3 separate regions of the Homo sapiens genome follow, and all the other regions are linked to region 3. The links are contacts of gene promoters, found by promoter capture Hi-C in blood cells and fetal thymus (Javierre and others, 2016). All regions are on one chromosome and are shown on one strand. The core of a region is centred on a gene start or on the middle of the fragment in contact, and the rest is flanking DNA. Distances in the headings are between cores, read along the strand shown.

What was found. Contacts are between HindIII fragments. The CHiCAGO score rates a contact against its expected background, and 5 or more counts as called.
Region 1: a fragment that was not itself captured here is called in contact with the fragment with the promoter of MPO in region 3 in 1 of 17 cell types (M2 macrophages); the score reaches 5.1 in M2 macrophages.
Region 2: a contact is called between a fragment that was not itself captured here and the fragment with the promoter of MPO in region 3, in 1 of 17 cell types (M1 macrophages). The highest score is 5.6, in M1 macrophages.

Annotation. Positions count from the first base shown.
Region 1 is chr17:58,456,038-58,460,179 of GRCh38, reverse strand. HSF5 (heat shock transcription factor 5) reads left to right here. Exons shown (of 6, transcript NM_001080439.3): 5 at 1,235-1,412. Among named protein-coding and RNA genes, the nearest start is that of HSF5, 30 kb to the left of the region's middle. The HindIII fragment of the contact is 2,581 bases long and covers 1,128-3,708 here.
Region 2 is chr17:58,435,539-58,439,288 of GRCh38, reverse strand. The region is part of intron 5 of HSF5 (heat shock transcription factor 5); the gene reads left to right. Among named protein-coding and RNA genes, the nearest start is that of RNF43, 20 kb to the right of the region's middle. The HindIII fragment of the contact is 3,086 bases long and covers 63-3,148 here.
Region 3 is chr17:58,279,127-58,283,246 of GRCh38, reverse strand. It overlaps MPO (myeloperoxidase), which reads left to right and starts at 2,312. Exons shown (of 12, transcript NM_000250.2): 1 at 2,312-2,642; 2 at 2,788-2,881; 3 at 3,233-3,408; 4 at 3,601-3,724; 5 at 3,821-3,950; 6 at 4,033-4,120. The coding sequence starts at 2,489. RefSeq lists promoters at 1,032-1,232, 1,278-1,503, 1,388-1,789, 2,182-2,322, 1,728-2,322 and enhancers at 1,362-1,379, 3,964-4,120. The HindIII fragment of the contact is 16,452 bases long and covers 553-4,120 here.

The sequences.
Region 1 (4,142 bases), core at 1,169-3,668, 180 kb before region 3:
CTTGGTGTGGTGGCATACACCTGTGTCCTAGGTACTTGGGAGGCTGAGGTGGGAGGATAGCTTGAGCCTGGGAGGTCAAGGCTGTAGTGAGCCGTGATCACACCACTACACTCCAGCCTGGGCAACAGAATGAGACCCTGTCTGAAAGAAAGAAATTTGTATTTTATAAACAGGGCAGATATAGATTTTATAGGGGCTAAAGCTTATACAATTTTGAGGGCCTCTTTAAGAGAAAGAATACAAAATTAGTAGAATAAAGTATCCACATCCCACTGAAACCATCTAACAGGATCATGCCTATGGCCATTCCAACAGGAGAGGAAGTCTGATAGAACATATTCTACAGAGAAAAAAGATGGTTTTAACCAATCATGGTGAAACTATCTTACTTTTGGTCAGGTGTGGTGGCTCACGTCTGTAAACCCAGTGCTTTGGGAGGCCCAGGTGGAAAGATCCCCTGAGACCAGGAGTTACCAGCCTGGGCAACATAGCGAGACCCTGTCTCTACAAAAAAACCTTTTTTTTTTTTTTTTGAGATGTAGTCTCACTCTGTTGCCCAGGCTGGAGTGCAGTGGTACAATCTCGGCTCACTGCAACCTCCATCTCCTGGGTTCAAGCGATTCTCCTGCCTCAGCCTCCCGAATAGCTGGGATTACAGGCACCTGCTACCACGCCCGGCTAATTTTTTGTATTTTTGGTAGAGACAGGGTTTCACCATGCTGGCCAGGCTGGTCGAGAACTCCTGACCTCATGATCTGCCCACCTTGGCCTCCCAAAGTGCTGGGATTACAGCTGTGAGCTACCGCGCCCGGCCTACAAAAAAACTTTTTAAAAATTAGCTAATACCTGTAGTCCTAGCTGCTCAGGAGGATCACTTGAGCCCATGAGCTCGAGGTTACAGTGAGCTATGATTGTACCACTGTACTCCCGCCTGGACAACAATGTGAGACCCTGCCTTAAAACAAAAAAAAAAACCTGTACTTTTGTAAGTTAAAAAAAAATCAACAAGCTTCATGGTAGATATTCCTCTGATCATAAGTAAATGTTTTAGCTCCATATACATTTTAATAGTTTGTGTAGGGAGAAAGGTATAGTATCAATAATAAGAATGAAAAGCCTTATAAGCTTGTTTGTTGGATCATGTTCCCATAATAGAACTCCTCTGATAAAATATCTTAACTTTTAGCAGATATTTGGAGGAAATCTCAAATAATGAATGGGTTTAATATTTTAGGTGGATGCCAACATAAAATGCCAGACCAGTTCACGTGAGAATATCTTGCCGTCAGAACAGATGGGATTCCTCATTTCAGAAATGGGGCCTGCTAGCAAGCCTAGTGAAGACACAGGTTTAGCCACTCCAGCCAGATACAGAGAGCACAGAAGCAACTCACAACAAGGAAAGTCCCCTGGTAAGGATTATTGTGCTCTAGAATGCCAGAAGTAGAATCACGCTGTAGAATTAATATATGAATGACATTTTTTCTGGGTCTCCATTTATTATTCATAATTGTATTAGACCTGTCACATTGCTGTTTTTACATAGCTGTAATTTTAACTCTATATTTGTTCTTAATTATTGTTGTGAAGTATGTAATAGTTATTTTCTTAATATTGCATATAATGATTTGGGCTTTGAAAATATAGAACATATTAAGAATAAGCAAAGGAATTTAGATTATTTAACTTGGAGAAGGCAAGGATGAAGGATGATTTAATAAGTATCCTCAGATGCCAGACTTCGAAATTGTAGTTGTACTTACTCTGTTATTAACAGACTCTAGGACAAGAGGGCATGCATTTATATTGTGACAAGAGAAAATCAGATGGAAATTTAGGATATTATCCTGAGCGCATTTTAAAGATACTATAAAGTATGACCCTATACCAATGAATGGTTTGTTATTCTTGTGGTTTGTAAGAACCCAGAATAAGTGATTGTTTTAGGCACATACAGTTGATTCTAATAAGACAAAATCATATTTTTTGAAGAAATAGTAACATCTAATAAAACATGTGTCTCATATCATCCAAAAATCAAGTTACCAAAGTCTGCAGTGGACAATTTTAATATTCTAGAATTATGTTCATGTCAGGGGCATGCAGTGCAGGCAGAATGACAGTGTAGGTTAAAATGACAGACCATCATTTTAACCTACAATAATTTGAAAAATGTTGAGAACTTCTGTGAGAATTTTTCCAAAAAGTAAATTAATAGTGATATGATCATGGTGTAGCTCAGACTCATAGGGTTCTTTCTGCAAAATGTCTTTTAGGCTAAAAACTGTCTATCATTTATTCACTAAATTTAGCTTGCACACTTTTAGTTGATTATATTTTCCAATCCATAATTAAAGACTAAAGATTTCTTACCACTGAAGGTGTTTAACACAATGGCATGAGCCTTGAAGGCAATTTAGATGAGAGAAAGGCAGGAACTAACATTTACCGTATCCATTTTTGTGCCATAGGACAAATCTGTTGGAAGTGGCATTGTCATTTTAAACATCAGGAAATTTAGGCTTAGAGTAAGTAACTTGTTCAAAGTCACATATAAATTTGTTTTATTTTTTCATTTTTTAGAGACAGAGTCTTTCTCTGTTGCCCGGGCTAGAATGCAGTGGCGCATCTTGGCTCACTGCAGCCTCCACCTCATAGATTCCAGCAATTCTCATGGCTCAGCCTCCCGAGTAGCTGGGACTACAGGTGCGTGGCACCACACCCGGCTAATTTTTGTATTTTTAGTAGAGATGGGGTTTCACCATGTTGGCCAGGCTGGTCTTGAACTCCTGGCCTCAAGTGATCCACCCACCTCGGCCTCCTAAAGTGCTGGGATTACAGGCATGAGCCACCATGCCTGGCCCTTTTTTCTTTTCTTTCCTTTTCCTTTTCTTTATTATTATTATTATTTTTTTTTTCTGAGACAGAGTCTTGCTCTGTTGCCCGGGCTGTAGTGCAATGGCGTGATCTTGGCTCACTGCAACTTCCACCTCCCAGGTTTAAGTGATTCTCCTGCCTCAGCCTCCTGAGTAGCTGGGATTACAGGCACACTCCACCACGACTAGCTAATTTTTGTATTTTTAGCAGAGGCAAGGTTTCCGCCATGTTGGCCAGGCTGGTCTTGAACTCCTGACCTCAGGTGATCTGCCTGCCTCGGCCTCCCACAGTGCTGGGATTGCAGGCATGAGCCACTGCACCCAGCTGCCTTTTTTCATTTTTTATAGAGATGGGGTCTCACTATGTTGCCCAGGCTGGTCTTGCACTCCTAGGCTCAAGCAGTCCTCCTGCCTTGACCTCTCAAAGTGCTGGGATTATGAGCATGAGCCACCATGCATGGCCAGTCACATATAAACTAATATTGCTAATATCCTACCCTAAGTTGTCTGCCTGTAGAGCACATATTCTTTCCTTTTAATTTTTTATTGTGTTGAAGAACATGTAACATAAAATTTATCATTTTAACCATTTTTATTTTTAATTTATAATTTAAATATAATTGTACATATTTATGAGGTACAATGTGATTTTTTGACACATGTATATGTAGTGTAATGATCAAATTGAGATAATTACCATATCCATCACTCTAAACATTTATCATTTCTTTGTGGTGATAACACTCTAAACCTTTTCTTCTAGCTGTCTTGAAATATACACTACATTGTTATTTGCTACAATTATGCTACTGTGTAATAGAATACCAAAGCTTATTCTTCCTATCTAACTACAACTTTTGACCAACTTCTCCCAATATCCCCACTTTCCTACTTTCCCCAGCCTCTGGTATTTACTATTCTACTTTCTTCTATGAAATTAACTTTTTTAGCTTCCATATATGAGTAAGATCATGTAGTATTTGTCTTTCTGTGCCTGGCTTATTTCACTTAACATAATGTTCTCCAGGTTCACCTATGTTGCCAAAAATGACAAGATTTCATTCTGTTTTATGGCTGAATAGTATTCCATTGTATATTTATGTACGTACGTGTGTGTGTGTGTGTGTGTGTGTGTGTATATACACACACACATATATATATATACACACACACATATATATATATATATCACATTTTCTTTATTCATCTGTAGATGCGTATTTAGGTTGATCCATATCTTGGCTATTGTAAATAGTGCTGTGGTAA
Region 2 (3,750 bases), core at 356-2,855, 160 kb before region 3:
TGTTTTTGTTTTTTTTTTCCATTGGCTTTCTTCCCTATTCAAGAATGGAGCATTAAAAAGCTTACAGAAGCTCTGTTGACAAGATTTGTCAACTGTTGGGCTTAGCTTAATGTTAATCAGCATGTACCACCAATTTTTTTTATTTATTATTATTTTTTTTTTGAGGCAGGGTCTCACTCTGTTGCCTAGTCTGGCACGATCATAGCTCACTGCAGCCTTGATCTCTGGGCTAAAGTGATCCTCCCACCTCAACCAACCTACCCCCAACCCCCCAAAGAAGTAGCTGGGACTACAGGCACATGCCACCACACCTAGCTGATTTTTTTTTACTTTTCAAAGAGATGGAGTCTCACTGTGTTGCCCAGGCTGATCTCCAACTCCTGGTCTCAAGCAATCCTCCCAACTTAGCCTCCCAAAGTGCTGGGATTACAGGTGTCAGCCACCATGCCTGGCCTTAAGGCACTTCTTAGTGCAACTTCAGGTTGGGGTATTGAAGCAGTTGGATTCATGACCCAGTTACTGAACTCTAGTCAATAAGTTGTCAACCACAGGCAGTCAAATATTCCCTTCCATCTCTGCTTGCACACTAGGTACCTCTAGCCTGAGTTTATCTCTTCTTTTAGGGCTTTGCTGAATGTGTCAAGAAATAGTCAACACCTTGTGATTTTTGTCAATCTTTTCCCCCATGGTTGTATGTTCACTTGGCATGTGTGGTCTGACTTCCATGGTGTCACAGGTAATGATTTTACCAAATATGTTGGCATGGATAACAAAGATCACCAACATTCTAGCTTGCTGTGTCCTAACCATGTGCTGCCTGACTGCAAAGCCAGTAGCACATATAATCATGTATCCCTTAATGACAGGAATGTATTCTGAGAACTATGTCATTAGTTAATGTTATTGTTTTATAAACATTGTGAATTGTACTTACACAAACCTAGATGATGTTGCCTACTACATACCTAGGCTGTATAGTATAGCCTATTGCTTCTAGGCTACAAACCCTTACAGCATGTTACTGTATTGAATATTGTAAGCAATTGTAATACAGTGGTATTTGTGTATCTAAACATAGCTAAGCATAGAAATGGTACAGTAAAAATAGAGTACAATCTTACAGAATCATCATCATCTATATGGTCTGTCACTGACCAAAATCAACCAATTATTTTTTTTTTTGGCAATTTGATTGGCAAAACTTTAACTGTTGATAATATCCAGCTTTGATAAAGGTATAGAGAAAAGGAACCTTCTCTATGCTGTAATTGGAATGTAAATTCGTATAGCCCTATAAAGGACAATTGGCATTATTTATAGATAACTAAAATGCTTATGAGTTTTGACTCAGGAACTCTACTCCTGGGAATCTCTCCTGTAGAAATGTGTATATTCCCAAAGGTACTCAAAATAAGTTTGCTATAGTGTTATTTATAATAGCAAAAATTTGAGAAAAGCATAAATGCCTGACAGTGGGGAACCAGATACATTATGACATCTACATAATAAAATACTGTGCAACCATTTAAGAAACTGAAGTAGCTTGATGTGTTGTGACCTGGAAAGACAGTAAGTGTTCATAATGTGTTCAGCAAATGGGTAAGTTGCAACACAATATGTCTAGCACAACCCCCTTTCTAGAAAGAAAGAAAAGAAAGTATATGCTGTAAAATTATAGAAAAAAGTCTGGAGATATACGATATAGCTGATAAATATAACACTAGTTATCTCTCAGAAGATAGAATGTATGGGTGCAGGGGTATGCTTAACTTCTCAATTTGTATATGTATATATAATAGGATTACGGGAAATTTTCACCATCTGTATTCTTCTATGTTTTTCAAATTTTAAAAAATCTAAAAATACTAAAAGTAGTTTAAATACTTGAAGTGTTCCTATAGCAGGAATATAAAAGCCTTAAAGTAATAGAAATGAACAATTTCAGAGTGTTTTTAAAAAATATTTATATCCCAGATAGTAAACTGACTTTTGAGGTTTAGATATGATTGACTCAAGATAAACTTACCCTATACCAAGAATGCCTTTCTAAGATTTCTGAGACTTTCTAGGGTTCACAGTAGCTTTTATTTTTGAGTTTCTGCTTAAATGTAATTCCAGACTTGTCCATATCTGACCTCCCAGGGCTGTTCTTATCTGTCTGTTCCATGCTATACCAGATGCAGAACTTGGCCCACTTTCTTTGACCTCTTCCTCCCTTTAAGCATTATGCTAGGCATGTGTATGTGTAGCACACTTTTATGAAGATGTCGGGAGGCAGAAATACCGACAGAAATATTTAGAATACCGCAAAAATGGAATTAAAAGGCCCCCAGTCACTTTACGGCATCTTTCCTTGTCACTAGTCAATATGGTCCTCTGCCATGTTGCTTTCTTTCCTTGTACTAGCACCAGACCTTCGTTTCTCTGCTTTCTGTTGTTGTTGTTGTTATGGTTGGTTTTTTTTTTCTGCTCTTTCCCCAGGTGCTGAATTCCTGTGTTTTACTTAGGCAAAGAAGGTTAGGTATCTCTTCTATTTTTTGATGTTTTTAAGGCGTCATTTTTCCCAACCAGAACAATCTATCGAGACATATTCCTCAACAAAGACAATTACCTCCCTGAGAGGAACTCTGGTGCCTGCTGTTAAAAAAATAATTTCCTCTCTTTCACTACATGTTATGGTTATAAGTGTAACTGATAAAATAATTAGCACAGTAATTATCTTTATTAACTCTTCCTGTTGTTTTTTTTTTCTAAGTAAAGCCTTATCCTTTGGTCAGTGCAGTTAATAGATGAGTCTTAATTGATGTTGGCTTCCTGCTGTGAAACATAAGAGTTGTGAAATCTTGGCATCATTATGACACCTAATCACATTTTCATTTTATTATGGACAAGAGGAAAATGAGTTATGATTAAGCTAGAACCTCTCTGCTAAAAAAAAAAAAAGTTTTTTAATTAAAGTGTAGGCAGAAATACAATTCATGAAGTTGCAAATGATTCTGCTCTGATAGACCTTGGCCTAGCAGTTGGTCTATGAAAACATGGCTATATGTAAGGTCCCATGGCATTAAGAGACCTTAACCAAAGTCAATGTGTGAGATTAATATACTGCTCATTAAAAACAGTACAGCATATGGTTAGAAAGAAAGCTTTTGGTGTTAGAAAAACCTGCATTAAAACCTGGATTCTGCTCTTTACTGTGTGACCTTGGACGTGTTTACCTAACTGAGCTTTGGTGTCCTCATCTGCAAAATGAGGAATATGGATTATAATGATATAAATCATAGAACTGGCTTAGTATTATGCTGGGTTACATAGTAAGTAGTCCATACATAGTAGCAATAGAATTTTAGCTATTTTTATAACATTTACTTTTTTTTTTTTTTTTTTTTTGAGATGGAGTCTCGCTCTGTCGCCCAGGCTGCGGTGCAGTGGCGTGATCTTGGCTCACTACAAGCTCCACCTCCCAGGTTCACACCATTCTCCTGCCTCAGCCTCCCGAGTAGCTGGGACTACAGGCGCCCGCCACCATGCCCGGCTAATTTTTTGTATATTTAGTAGAGATGGGGTTTCACCATGTTAGCCAGGATGGTCTCGATCTCCTGCTCGCCTCAGCCTCCCAAAGTGCTGGGATTACAGGCATGAGCCACAGCGCCCAGCCAATATTTACTGTTCTTATGTTTATTACCACTGGTTACTTTTCAGATGGCTAGTCTCTATTTATTTATTTATTTGTTTATTTATTGAGCTGGA
Region 3 (4,120 bases), core at 1,063-3,562:
CTTATAATAATGAAAATCAGAAACAACTCTAAGTATCTAATGAGATAGAATTAGTTAATAAATCATATAAAATAGTTATATGAAATATTATACAGACATAAAAATGAAGTAAACCTGTATTTATTGACACAGGGAGATGCTCAGACTAAAATTGTTAAGTACCGAAAGTAGATGGTAAAACAATATTTAAAGTTCTTCTTATCAATATTTAAAAATATATATTATGTTTACATATAGGATATCAAATTCTTAAATGAGGTATTGGTGAGTGGTGGGATTATGGGCAATTATTTTCCTTCCTATTGTTTATTTATGTGAAGACAATGATAAACCTTGAAAGAAAAAAGTACCCACAATCTCACTTGATGATGAGTAATTTTGATTTATTTTTATTTTTGCATACTCGTGTTCTCAAACTTTTCATCAGTGAAAATTATATTACTTAAAGGATTGAAAAATCATTTCCAAAAGCCTCTAAAATTCTAGAGCTTGATTCACAAAGAGCCACTCGACCAACTTCACACACAGCAAGTCACTGGCAGGGCAAAAGCTTGGTTCCCCTTCTCAGCAGGGGACAGAATCCCTGGACACACTGGGAAGATATTCTGGGTGTTGCTGTCCCTTGTCCCTTGGCCAAGAGGTGGTCTGGGCATAGAAGACAAGAGTGGGCCGGGCGCGGTGGCTCACGCCTGTAATCCCAACAGTGGGTGGATCAGGAGGAGGTCAGGAGTTTGAGACCAGCCTGGCCAACATGTTGAAACCCCATCTCTACTAAAAATACAAAATATTAGCCGGGCATGGTGGCGGGCGCCTGTAATCCCAGCTACTTGGGAGGCTGAGGCAGGAGAATTGCTTGAACCCAGGAGGCAGAGGTTGCAGTGAGCCGAGATTGCACCACTGTACTCCAGCTCCGCCAACAGTGAGAGACCCTGTCTCAAAAAAAAAAAAAAAAAAAAAGAGTGGGTGGCGGGAAGGTGGCTGAAGGTAGGAGGGGGAACCTAAATGGGACATGGGAGGCATGGTTGGCACGAGCTCAGCCTGACCAGGGCCCAGAGAGGTAGACTGATTCAGTCAAAAGTCGTAGTACTTTTCCTGCTGAGATTGGTGGCCCTTTTGCTGGGCTTTCTCAAGCAAGAAATATCCTCTTCTGTTTCAGAATTATTCTGAATCATTAACCCAAGTCCTCCCAACTGCACTGATCCTGTCCCAGAGAGGCCCTGGGCTGCATCACCTAACTGATCACTAACCACAACCAGTTCTGCTCTCTCCTGGTTCCTGAAATCCAGGAGCAGATGGTGGTGGGGAGGAGGAGTTTGGAGACAGCCCTCTACCAGAAGCCAAGAAGAAAGGGGAGTGAGGAGGGATAGAGGAAGTTATCTTGGTCCTGCGCCCACAGTCCCCAGGGTCCTCCTTCCTGTGAAGCCCAACGGTCTCCAGCCAGATTTCCTGTCCCCTTAGCCCCACCAAGAACCAGAGGCTGCCCATTGGGTGGCTGTTGGATGCAGGTTACTGTTGGAGTGGGGGATGGCCACCTGAGGCCAATTGGGTCATCTTTACTCCAGGTCTCCCTTTCATCCTCCTGTCTTCCCTGGGGGCACTCTATTCCCTGCAATTCCTTGGGCTACCAGTTCCTGACTTTTGTTCCTTTCAAAGGAACCCTGGATAACCAGTGTAACCAGAATTTCAGAGGGGTTAGTTGTGTGTATCCCCTGGGGACAAGCACTGGTATAGGCACACAATGGTGAGCTGAGAAATCTTGGGCTGGTAGTGCTAAATTCAAAGGCTGGGGACAGGCTGGGGCCAGTGGCTCATGCCTGTAATCCCAGCACTTTGGGAGGCTGAGGCGGGTGGATCACTTGAGGTCAGGAGTTCAAGACCAGCCTGGCCAACATGGTGAAACCCTGTATCTACTAAAAATACAAAAATTAGCTTCTTGCCTAAGGAAAAATACAAAAATTACTTCTTGCCTAAGGAAATAATTGATGATGTGGCTAGAGGCTAGGGCGTGGTGGCGGGCACCTGTAATCCCAGCTACTCGGGAGGCTGAGGCAGAAGAATCGCTTGAACCATTGCACATCAGCCTGGGCAACAGAGCAAGATAACGTCTCAAAAAAAAAAAAAAAAAAGGCTGGGGACAATGCTGGCCCCTCCTTTCCTGCCCCTTCCCCCCATTTCAGGGGCCCCTCTGTGTGTACCTTCCAACCCCAGTGGGGGAGGAGAAAGAGTTCAGTCTCCAGGATCAGACCTTCCTCTACCTCACCCCACCCCCAGCTTAGAGGACATAAAAGCGCAGATTGAGCTAAGAGGAGCTGACAATATCAGGTGAGCTGTGGAGGTGGGGTCCTTGGAAGCTGGATGACAGCAGCTGGCAAGGGGATAAGAGAGCAGTGAGCCCCTCCCTCAAGGAGGTCTGGCTTTATCCATAGACAGGGCCCTCTGAGGTGGGGCTGAGGTACAAAGGGGGATTGAGCAGCCCAGGAGAAGAGAGATGGGGGTTCCCTTCTTCTCTTCTCTCAGATGCATGGTGGACTTAGGACCTTGCTGGGCTGGGGGTCTCACTGCAGAGATGAAGCTGCTTCTGGCCCTAGCAGGGCTCCTGGCCATTCTGGCCACGCCCCAGCCCTCTGAAGGTGCTGCTCCAGGTAACAGTTCCCAAGGTGGGAGAAGATGGTGTGTTGGGGTGGTTGTGTTCCAGAGACCCCTTTTCTCAGAGCAGGCCTTCCTAGCTCTGGGGCCTGATAGGGGGTTGGGGCCCATTCCTGACTTTGTGATCCCTGCTCTGGGCAGCTGTCCTGGGGGAGGTGGACACCTCGTTGGTGCTGAGCTCCATGGAGGAGGCCAAGCAGCTGGTGGACAAGGCCTACAAGGAGCGGCGGGAAAGGTGGGGCACGAGGCACTGCCCAGCTCTGGGCAAGGATGTCCCAGGCCTTTCAGAGAAGCAGCAGGCAGCAGGGAGCTTGAAGGTGGGAGAGGGGGACTATGGGGACCCATGTGGACTCCCTTTCTGTCTGTCTGTCCCTGTGTTTCTGGATGGGAGAACAGCTTAAAAGCCATCCTTCCCAAAGCCTTGCCTCTGTCTGGACACCCAGGTCCATATCCTTTTTATAAAAGGAAGCCTTCCTCCCACCCGTGGGCCTGCCTGCATGGTCCTGCATGTCTGCCCCTGGGCTGGGGCTCTGCTGGGTGGGTCTGTATCCCTTCTCTGGCCCTCACTCCTCCTTTCTCCAAGCAGCATCAAGCAGCGGCTTCGCAGCGGCTCAGCCAGCCCCATGGAACTCCTATCCTACTTCAAGCAGCCGGTGGCAGCCACCAGGACGGCGGTGAGGGCCGCTGACTACCTGCACGTGGCTCTAGACCTGCTGGAGAGGAAGCTGCGGTCCCTGTGGCGAAGGCCATTCAATGTCACTGGTACTGTTGCCCATCACACCCCAGGTCCCTGCTCCACTAGTGACTCCTCCTAGGGACCCCAGCCGTCTCTCAGTGATCCCCTCAACTTCTTCCTCCAGGGAGTCTCAGGAGTCTCCAGGGCTCCTCAGCCTCAGGTTGCCTGGGATAGGAAGTGAGGCGGCTCAGCTCCCCCATTGTTCTTTCCCCCGGCAGATGTGCTGACGCCCGCCCAGCTGAATGTGTTGTCCAAGTCAAGCGGCTGCGCCTACCAGGACGTGGGGGTGACTTGCCCGGAGCAGGACAAATACCGCACCATCACCGGGATGTGCAACAACAGGTGCGGCTGGCTGGGGGTGGCTGCAGGAACCGGGCTCAGAGAGGCGTCCCGGACGCCACAAGCCTCCCGGTGTCAGCGCCCTGTCCTCCCCTGCAGACGCAGCCCCACGCTGGGGGCCTCCAACCGTGCCTTTGTGCGCTGGCTGCCGGCGGAGTATGAGGACGGCTTCTCTCTTCCCTACGGCTGGACGCCCGGGGTCAAGCGCAACGGCTTCCCGGTGGCTCTGGTGAGCGCCGGCGGGCAGAGGGGGCGAGGCCCGGCCACGCGGTGCGCGGACCCAGGCGCCAGCTGATCTCCGTGTCCCGCAGGCTCGCGCGGTCTCCAACGAGATCGTGCGCTTCCCCACTGATCAGCTGACTCCGGACCAGGAGCGCTCACTCATGTTCATGCAATGGG